3 separate regions of the Homo sapiens genome follow, and all the other regions are linked to region 3. The links are contacts of gene promoters, found by promoter capture Hi-C in human tissues and cell types (Jung and others, 2019). All regions are on one chromosome and are shown on one strand. The core of a region is centred on a gene start or on the middle of the fragment in contact, and the rest is flanking DNA. Distances in the headings are between cores, read along the strand shown. Region 1 overlaps LCOR (ligand dependent nuclear receptor corepressor). Region 2 overlaps LCOR (ligand dependent nuclear receptor corepressor). Region 3 holds the start of TM9SF3 (transmembrane 9 superfamily member 3).

Region 1 (2,736 bases), core at 49-2,548, 400 kb after region 3:
GAAGCAATCACTGAAGCTCTGCCATAGCTCCCGTAGAGGAGGGCCCTCTTCAGGACACCCATCTTCTATCCTACGAGACTCCCTGCTATAGATGGACATGCAGGAGACCACTCCCTCACTTGGGGTCCTGAGCCTCACCCCTAGCACTTCCTCAGACAGGTAACAATCTTGCAGCACAGCAGGAAGGTTGTGAACCTTTATTCTGCTCCTGAGGCTTCCTTCATAGGAATGCTGTCAGTTTCTGTAAGTCACCAGTCACTAGCCCCTTGGATTCCTTGTTAAAGACTTCTGTGCAGCCTTATCTAAAATGATAATCTTAGGCTGTGAGTCTCCTGCTGTATTGTTCCTAAAATCGTATGGATAGAAGAGGTGCCCTTAGTCATCCCTTTACATATGTGGTGCTTTCTAATGGGATCTCTATGCATCACATACTATGCAGGTGAATTTCTCACTGTTCAGATAGGTCATCAGTAAAAGGCATCACTTCAAGATAATTACTTTGAATTGAGGTTTGGCCTCTTTTCCTGCTTTGTAATGGGTTCGGTCATGAGGGTGGGAGCTGTCATTCACATTTATGGGCAGCATTCCTGTTGATTAGTGGACCTAAGAGCCAAGTAGGAAAATATAGCATGCTATGTGATACAAGCTGGAGATGCTGTAGTGTTACTATCAGCAAGTTCTGTGCAGACTGCCTTTCGGATTCCAGATGATCTGTCAAGGGTCTGCCAACTGTGGGCTGGTCGCTTGTTTGTGTAAATAAAATGTGTTTGGAATATAGCCACACCCATTTTCTTAAGTTCTGTCTGCGGCTGCTTTCGCACTGCAAGAGCAGAGTTGAGTAGCTGCGGCAGAGACCCGTGTGGCCCTTACAGCCTAAGATACTATCTGGACCTTCAGAAAACATCTGCTGATCCCTGCTTGAGAAAGTCATCCTTTTCAGGAACAAATATTCTTGATTTTCCTTCTCTCTTCTGCCCTTTTCTCTCTGTTCTTCTTTACTTCTCATTTTCCTTGTCTCCATTTTTTCTTTTCAAAGGAGACATGTTATATCGATATGCACTACTATCCCCTTAAACTTGAGCAACCTTAGCATTCCATCTTCTTAAAAAAAACCATCACAGTAGCCAAAATGAGGCCACCTTACCGTATCGAGCCGGAACCCATGAGCAAATAGGGATTCAGAGTTCTAAAATTATGTGGCCTGGGCCTCTCATTTCACTCACACAGAACTGACTCTGGCTTTATTTCTTGTTTATTAAAGTAAGCCAAGATTTTGTTTCTGGTAAAATTAGTTGAGACTACTTTAGTTGGACTTTTAGTCCTCTGAATGTCACATTTAGATATGGAAAATGTTTTTTCACAGAGTAGAAACAAAGTCTGATCACAATCCCAAAGCTTTGTTTATTCTTATATAATATTTTGGTACTGATACCTTTTCAGCCACATACTTTCAAAATAATTTTATTAAAGGTAAGCCAACAAATAAAACATAGAGGCTTTTGAAGTGCTTTAATATTGATTTAAAAAATTGGAGTTATAACCAGAGTATGACTGAAAAGCTATTATAGTCTTCCTCCTTTTCCAAAAACTCAAGGATAAGGATATATATATATATATATATATTTTTTTTTTTTTTTTTTTTTTTTAATAGAGACGAGGTTACGCTATGTTGCCGAGGCTGATCTGAAACTCCTGGCCTCAAGCAGTGCTCCCACCTCAGCCTCCCAAAGTGCTGGGATTACAAGTGAGCCACCGCACCAACCCAAGTATGAGTTTCTATGCTGGTTTTTTTTTAATGTGATTCAATGTCCTGTCAGTGAAAAATTTTTGTCAGTGGCCCCAAATCACTGATCGTTTTAGTTGTTTTGAAACAATTATCATTTTGAATTCTTAGTATTACTTTGATGTCTTATTGTGACTTGATATCCACTGAAATACTGGAATTTTTTTTAAGTATAAAATTGATCTGTGTAAGGCGGTCTTCATATCCTAGCAGTAAGTGCTATTCCCCATGCTTGCTCTCAAATCCTTTTCAGGGGAAAAATAAAAAGATTATTGTATTTAAAACGAGCAGAATTGTGGGAGGGCCTTCCCCTCCCCCTGCCCAGCCCCCAGACAGGGTCTCACTCTGTCGCCCCAGGCTGGAGTGCAATGGGCATATGGTCTTATCTATTAGGGTATGTAGTTTAAAAGTACAGTTTTTTGAAAGTATAGTCATCTTCATTTTTATGACGCCCACTGCAGGCTCAAAGAGATTTTCACACCTCAGCCTCCTGAGTAGCTGGGACTACAGGTGCATGCCACCACACCCAGTTAATTTTTTTTTTTTTTCCAGTTTTAGCAGAAATGAGGTCTCACTGTGTTGCCCAGACTGGGAAGTCTTTTGAGGCAGCCTTCAATATAATTCATCCTTTGAAACATCAGAACAGAGTCCTGTATTCTACAATGGATGGATTGGAAGACTTGAGGATCCAGTCTCTTTCCTTTATAGATAATTAGACTCAGGCAGAAACTCAGAGCTCTCAGGGCTTTGCTGTGCTGTGCTGTGTCATGCCGTCCTGGGGCCCGGGGAACCACCCTGAGCACTTTGTGGAGTGTGTCCTTGCTCAGGCTTTTGCCTTGGGATTGAACCGAAGCTGCTCAGTTCCTTCCACTTACCTCCTCTCTGTCTGATCTTCCTTTTCCCAGAGCCTCAGTGCTTGATGCTCAGTGCTCAGGAGATGTCCTTTGCTCCAT
Region 2 (2,700 bases), core at 186-2,685, 360 kb after region 3:
TTTTTGCAAAGCTGTCAGGGTGATTCTGATGAACATTAAAGTGTGAGAATGATTGCCCTAGCCTAAAATGGATCTTAAAATTAAGTATCTCCTTTTATAATCTTGGTATGCCTTCTGTCTTTAATATAAAGTAAATTAAGCACTCATGAACTCAGTAATGCATTCTTCAAATATTTAGGAGAAGGTGGCTGAGGAAAAAGTCTAGGGTTACTTGATGTGACCTATAGGTGTGTTAACATGAGAGTATTTCCTAAGTGAAGGGTTTTGGGATTTCTGTATCAGGTAAGTGATTCTTGCCCATAAGATATTCTAGTTGTTATCCCTTTATTTAATTTCATAATATTCAATTATTATATGGGGGAAGATGTTTAGAATTATTTTAATAAAAATTTTATTTTTAAAAATAGACAACTCAAAAGCTTAGAAAACATAAGTCAAAGGGGAGATACTATTTTTAAGATAACTGCATTTTAAGAAAAATAAAATGAAATTTTATGTTTACTTGAAAGCTGTCTTTTTTAGTACATTGTCCCACTTTAAAAGTAAATAAATCTTTATTTACAGACAGTCCCTGGGTCTCCGACCCCAATATTCCCCTAGTGGCCCGTGAGATCATGCAGCGAATGATCCAACAATTTGCTGCTGAATATACCTCAAAAAATAGCTCTACTCAGGACCCCAGCCAGCCCAATAGCACAAAGAACCAAAGCCTGCCGAAAGCATCTCCAGTCACCACCTCTCCCACGGCTGCAACTACTCAGAACCCTGTGCTCAGCAAACTTCTCATGGCTGACCAAGACTCACCTCTGGACCTTACTGTCAGAAAGTCTCAGTCAGAACCTAGCGAACAAGGTATGGTTTGATGTCAAGGTCTCCTCTATCTTATCAGAATACTTTACTTTGGGGAGAAAAAAAAAAGCATTGGCAAGTAGAGCATCAGCAGCAATAATAGCATAAAAACTAATGTGATTCTTAAATTATTTCTTACTATGCAGTGATGGAGAAGTACAGCTAAAGTTGTTACAGCCTTATCTGTCAGCAGTTCATAGTCATGATTGATGTACCACTCAGGAAAGTCAGGTGGTTAACAGTTGTCACTAATCTTTCAGTTACTTGATATTTATATAAGCATTTTATATTTTCCATAGTATTTTTATGTTTTTTAAAACTCCTATGAAAAAGTAAGTTTTCTTATTAACTAAAAATTTTCTAGGACTAGCACCTGTCTGAGAAATATGCCTCTACTTGCAGGTATAAGTTATATACTCTGCAAATGAGATCATAAGGAAAAACATGTATTCGAATTTTGAGAAAGAAACTGCTAGGGTTACAAATAGAGAAAGCAGCAGAACATACTTTAGGTTGTTAAATATATTCAATGTTTTATAAATACAGAAACACATATATAAACACACACATCCACTGACTAACTTGAAAGTATTTCCAAAAGGGAATTTGTTGATGAGGACACTAATTAAGTGATGAAGTTAAGAGGTTATTAGTTTTGTTTAGCAAATGTTTCTTGAGTCTCTGAAGTTTATTTTCTTCAGTAGATATTCCTGTTGCTTTGTGATCTCATTTTACCTTTAATTTCACAAAAATTGAAGCAAGCATTTCAACTCAGCCACTGTTTGAACCACTACGAATTGTAAATTGGTGATGTCTGTACTAATGAGATTTTATTGTCATAGAAATCTTGAGTATACAGAAAGGTTACGAGATTTATTGTAACCTTTATTTATTGGATTTATTGGTGAGAAATACATGTTTATTTTGGAAAATAAATTTAATTCTTAACCTCTTTGAAATGAACTTTCTTTTGAGTAGTTTTCCTTTGCTTTTATCCTTTTCCTGTGTGGTGAACAGCAAACAAAACATCTGAGTTCTGAGAGATTTCTTGACAGGAGACCTCCTACTTGTTCACATTGCTCATGTTCCTTTGGTTACCATATTTACAAAGTTGTATCTTTTATTGATGACTGTTTTCTTTTCCACAAATTGGTAGTTTTCATTAAAGATCTCCTCACTCTAAATATTGCATCAGAAGTTTCAGGTTTATATTAGGAGAATGACAACATAGAATAATATTTAAAGTATTAATGGAGGTTAACATAAAATGATACCACTTAATCTAATTTAACTTGTTATAACTAATGTTACACTTAAGAGATCAATACATTGTATTGACAGCATGCTCTTAAAAAGAGGAATTTGAACTACATGATAGCATTATAGTGTGTAGACTTCAAATGAAGTAAAAAAATTTTAAATTATATTTCCTTAATGAATGTGTTTTCAGCCAAAAACCACAATATTTTTAGTGGTAGATTTAAAATATGTTGCCTGTTTGATTAGACAAATTGTCTATTTGACTTGCGTTTAAATAATAGTGTCTTTGGTTGGAAAAGTTGTAAGCAGTAGTACATTTGCTTCTTAGATGTATAATTGGGTTAGATGTCTAATAGGATAATTGGTTCTATAAGCTTATAATTATATTTTTAGAAGTACTAGTGACTGTAAAGGACAAAACTCTTTCTTATGAGTGTGGGGTTTTTTTATTTACAAACTCTGTTGCCTGTTTATTTCTAACAGCCGGAAATAAAATGTCCTCAGATACAAGTTGTAAGTAGCTTCTACTCTGGGGTGATTTTTAACACAACTAGATAGCACGACCCCTCTACTGGCCAACTGAAAATTAAA
Region 3 (2,955 bases), core at 270-2,769:
CCAATTCGAGATTTGTGTCTCTAAAGAAATACATACCTACACAGGTAAGAAGTTTCTGGCTGTGACCGAAGGTAGAACAGTCAAAAGTTTAGAGCTTTTATTAGCTAAAATAAGATCCCAGCTAGCCAAGGATCCAGCGAAAAGTTTTGTTGATTACAAATAAAATCGGATCCATTAAATAGGTAAGGACGACTGCTTCATTTCCTCACTTACCAGAAATGACATAAGACTCCCTCAGATCGTTCTGATTTAGTACAAACACAGTCTCTCATAGAAACTCCTATCATTAATGGTAAAGGTATAAAAAACAATTACTCGTCAAGCAAACTCTCAATTTACCTGACCTTCCTGCCTTGCTCAAGTCTACCACTCTGAAAACCACAGTTACAGCCCTAAGTGAAAGCCATTTGAAGAGTCGTTCACATGCACGTTTTGATGTGAGAATACCAATTAAACAAACTGCCAATCACCTTTAGGCCAAATGCAAAAGGGACTGTTTCTGGCCCTGACCTGAAGACTGGGAAACGTCAAGACCCTTTACTGTCAGAAGCTGCCTTAGTTAGAGACTATCGGGATGGGGGTCTCACTTAGGGGCTGGAAGGTGAGGAGAAAGTTACAAGAAAGGCCTAGGAATTGAACGCGTGTAGGTTGGGTGCACTTACAAGTAAGTATAAACTGCTCTTCAATTCAAGTTTATTAATGCTGCCCCACCCCAGGGTTTTAATCCGGTCTGGGCAGAAGCGGGCGATAAAAGCCAAAGGAGACCATAAAGTGTAGGATATTTCCTGGTTAGTGGCTGCCGGGTAATCACGATGCATCCATCTTCCTCGGCGTCGCAGCCCTCAGTAGCCAGAAGGCAGTCTCCTTCCCTGGGGGGCAAAAGCCCCGAGCCCAGCCTGCCCGTTGCCCCGCTCCCGCGGTGGATGAACCTCAACCCTTCCCAGGCTCCTTCCTGGCCCCAGGGTCCCAGGAACCCCGAGACCCTGGGGTGCGGCGCCACTGAGGCCCAGACCGGGGGAAGGAGACCCTGTCACTCGGGAGCGGAGCCCTGTCCCGGGAGCGCACGGAAATGCCTCCTCCACGCTCCCAAGGTTCCTGCTCCGCCAGGCCCAACCGGAAGGAGTCCTCGGGCCGCAGTGGGGCACCACCGGGCCGCCGGGCACTCCAGGCTGCGTGGGGCCTGCCTCAGTGGGCAACTGGGGAGCTAGCCCGGGGCGGCCGCGCCGGCCGGGGCGCCTCACCGTGTGTTCGTGCTCGTCCGCCCGGGTCCGGGGCAGCAGCAGCAGCAGCAGCCACAGCGCGGCGGCCGCCGCCACGCCAAGAGCGCCAGGCAGCGGCCTCATCCTCCGCGCCCCTCCGGCCCGGAGCCGGCTCACCGACTCCTCCTCCCGCCGCCGCCTCCTCCGCCGCCGCCGCCTCCGCCGCGGCCGATTCGCATCCACGGGGCGCGGACAGACGCACGGGGCCCGGCCCAGCCGCTGCCTCCTCTGCCGCCGCCGTCGCCGTCACCGCCCGCTCCTGAGCCTCCCCCGCCCCCCGCGCCTCCTCAGCCTCTTCCTCTGACTCAGCCACGTCATCCGGCCACCCCGGCACGCGCCGGAAGTGCCTCGCGACGCGGGGCCGCCACCGCCGCCGGGCCGAGGGAGGGCCCGGCAACCGCCGCCTGCGCGCCGGCTGCCCCTCGGCTCCTGGGAGCCGCGGCGCTACGGGCCTGCCGAGCACTCGGGCGGGCGCCGAGCAGGCTGGGCCCCGGCGCAGTGGCCTAGCCTGGACCGCAAGGCCGAAGCCGCCTCCGGGCCGCGTCCCGGTGTTTCGGGTTGTGTAACCTTGGCCAAAATGCTTAAGCTTTTTTCCTGGCTGCCAAATGGGGCCGATCGTCTGACCTGCTGCCTCCGGAACTTGAGGGATCAGATCAAATAACCCTTTCCTGGCGCTCGTCTGCCGCTGTGAATGAATCACGGGCTCCTGTAATCACCGTTAGGAGAGATTGTTAAACTCGTACAGGGTTGGATGTTTTAAAGTTACTGAATATTTACTGGACCCCTACTGTTCAATCAAGACATGCTAAGTTAGCTTGCCATTCTTGTTCATTTATGTGTTTACTTAACTATTTCTGGGTCTCCTCTTCCCAGTCATAAATATCTCTTGGAGTGTAAGCTCCTCGGAGCAGAGATCCTGTTTCCGTATTTCCTGTACCTAGAACAGTGCCAGATCCGTAGTAGACACTGAAACAAAAAATCTTTAAAAAAAAAAAAATATACGAATGTGGCACCACCATTTACACAGGCCACTAAGCCAAAAATCTCGAACTTGTCAGATTGTCTCTTCTCAGCCATCAGCAGTCAACAAGTTCTAGCATTTGGTCTCTTAAAAGTGGTTCAAGAGTTTATTTTTCCTCTCCTTCCTCTGCCAGTACCAACCAGTCTTCCGTATCACTATGTATTGCAAGAGTCTCACAAGAAGATATCCATCACTGACTGATCTTCCTCCCGTTTAACATCCCCAACAGGTGCCAGGGTGATGTTTTTTTTATTCTAAAAAGAAACCAGATTATATCGCTCACTCCCTTGCTTAAAACAGTTCTTCAATGTTAGGTAAATAAATCATGGAGTCACCACGAGGGCGTTCATCTGCCAGGCACTATTCTGAACGATATTGGCTCATTAAATTCTCACAGAAACCCTATGCAGCAGGTACGGTGAAAATGTTCCTGTTACAGATGAGGTAACTGAAGCACAGAGAGCTTGAGTGGCTTGCTGAAACACCAGACCCACTCAGTCTGGCTCCATAATAGGTCTTTTTGCTGGTAATGATTTACCAACTATACAGCCACTTTAAAAAAAGGAAATAGGTAAGTACTGGCATGGAATGATAACCAAGAGGTTCTGTTAAATTTTCAAGTTGAAGAAAATAAGAGTTTAACTTCATTTTATATGGCAATATGTTAGTCTGCCC

Evidence for each region. The method cuts DNA at HindIII sites, captures the fragments that hold promoters and counts their contacts. A contact is called where the count stands out against the background at its distance.
Region 1: a fragment that was not itself captured here is called in contact with the fragment with the promoter of TM9SF3 in region 3 in 1 of the 25 tissues and cell types used here (lymphoblastoid cells).
Region 2: a contact is called between a fragment that was not itself captured here and the fragment with the promoter of TM9SF3 in region 3, in 1 of the 25 tissues and cell types used here (hippocampus).

What each region holds. Positions count from the first base shown.
Region 1 is chr10:96,988,074-96,990,809 of GRCh38, forward strand. It overlaps LCOR (ligand dependent nuclear receptor corepressor), which reads left to right. Exons shown (of 8, transcript NM_001346516.2): 8 at 1-2,736. Among named protein-coding and RNA genes, the nearest start is that of SLIT1-AS1, 110 kb to the right of the region's middle. The HindIII fragment of the contact is 6,513 bases long and covers 1-2,736 here.
Region 2 is chr10:96,948,444-96,951,143 of GRCh38, forward strand. It overlaps LCOR (ligand dependent nuclear receptor corepressor), which reads left to right. Exons shown (of 8, transcript NM_001346516.2): 6 at 565-852. The coding sequence starts at 615. Among named protein-coding and RNA genes, the nearest start is that of LCOR, 120 kb to the left of the region's middle. The HindIII fragment of the contact is 5,356 bases long and covers 1-2,700 here.
Region 3 is chr10:96,585,493-96,588,447 of GRCh38, forward strand. It overlaps TM9SF3 (transmembrane 9 superfamily member 3), which reads right to left and starts at 1,520. Exons shown (of 15, transcript NM_020123.4): 1 at 1,242-1,520. The coding sequence starts at 1,343. It overlaps LOC105378443 (a long non-coding RNA gene), which reads left to right and starts at 1,572. Exons shown (of 3, transcript XR_946220.4): 1 at 1,572-2,851. RefSeq lists a silencer at 1,180-1,749 and an enhancer at 2,628-2,687. The HindIII fragment of the contact is 5,763 bases long and covers 1-2,955 here.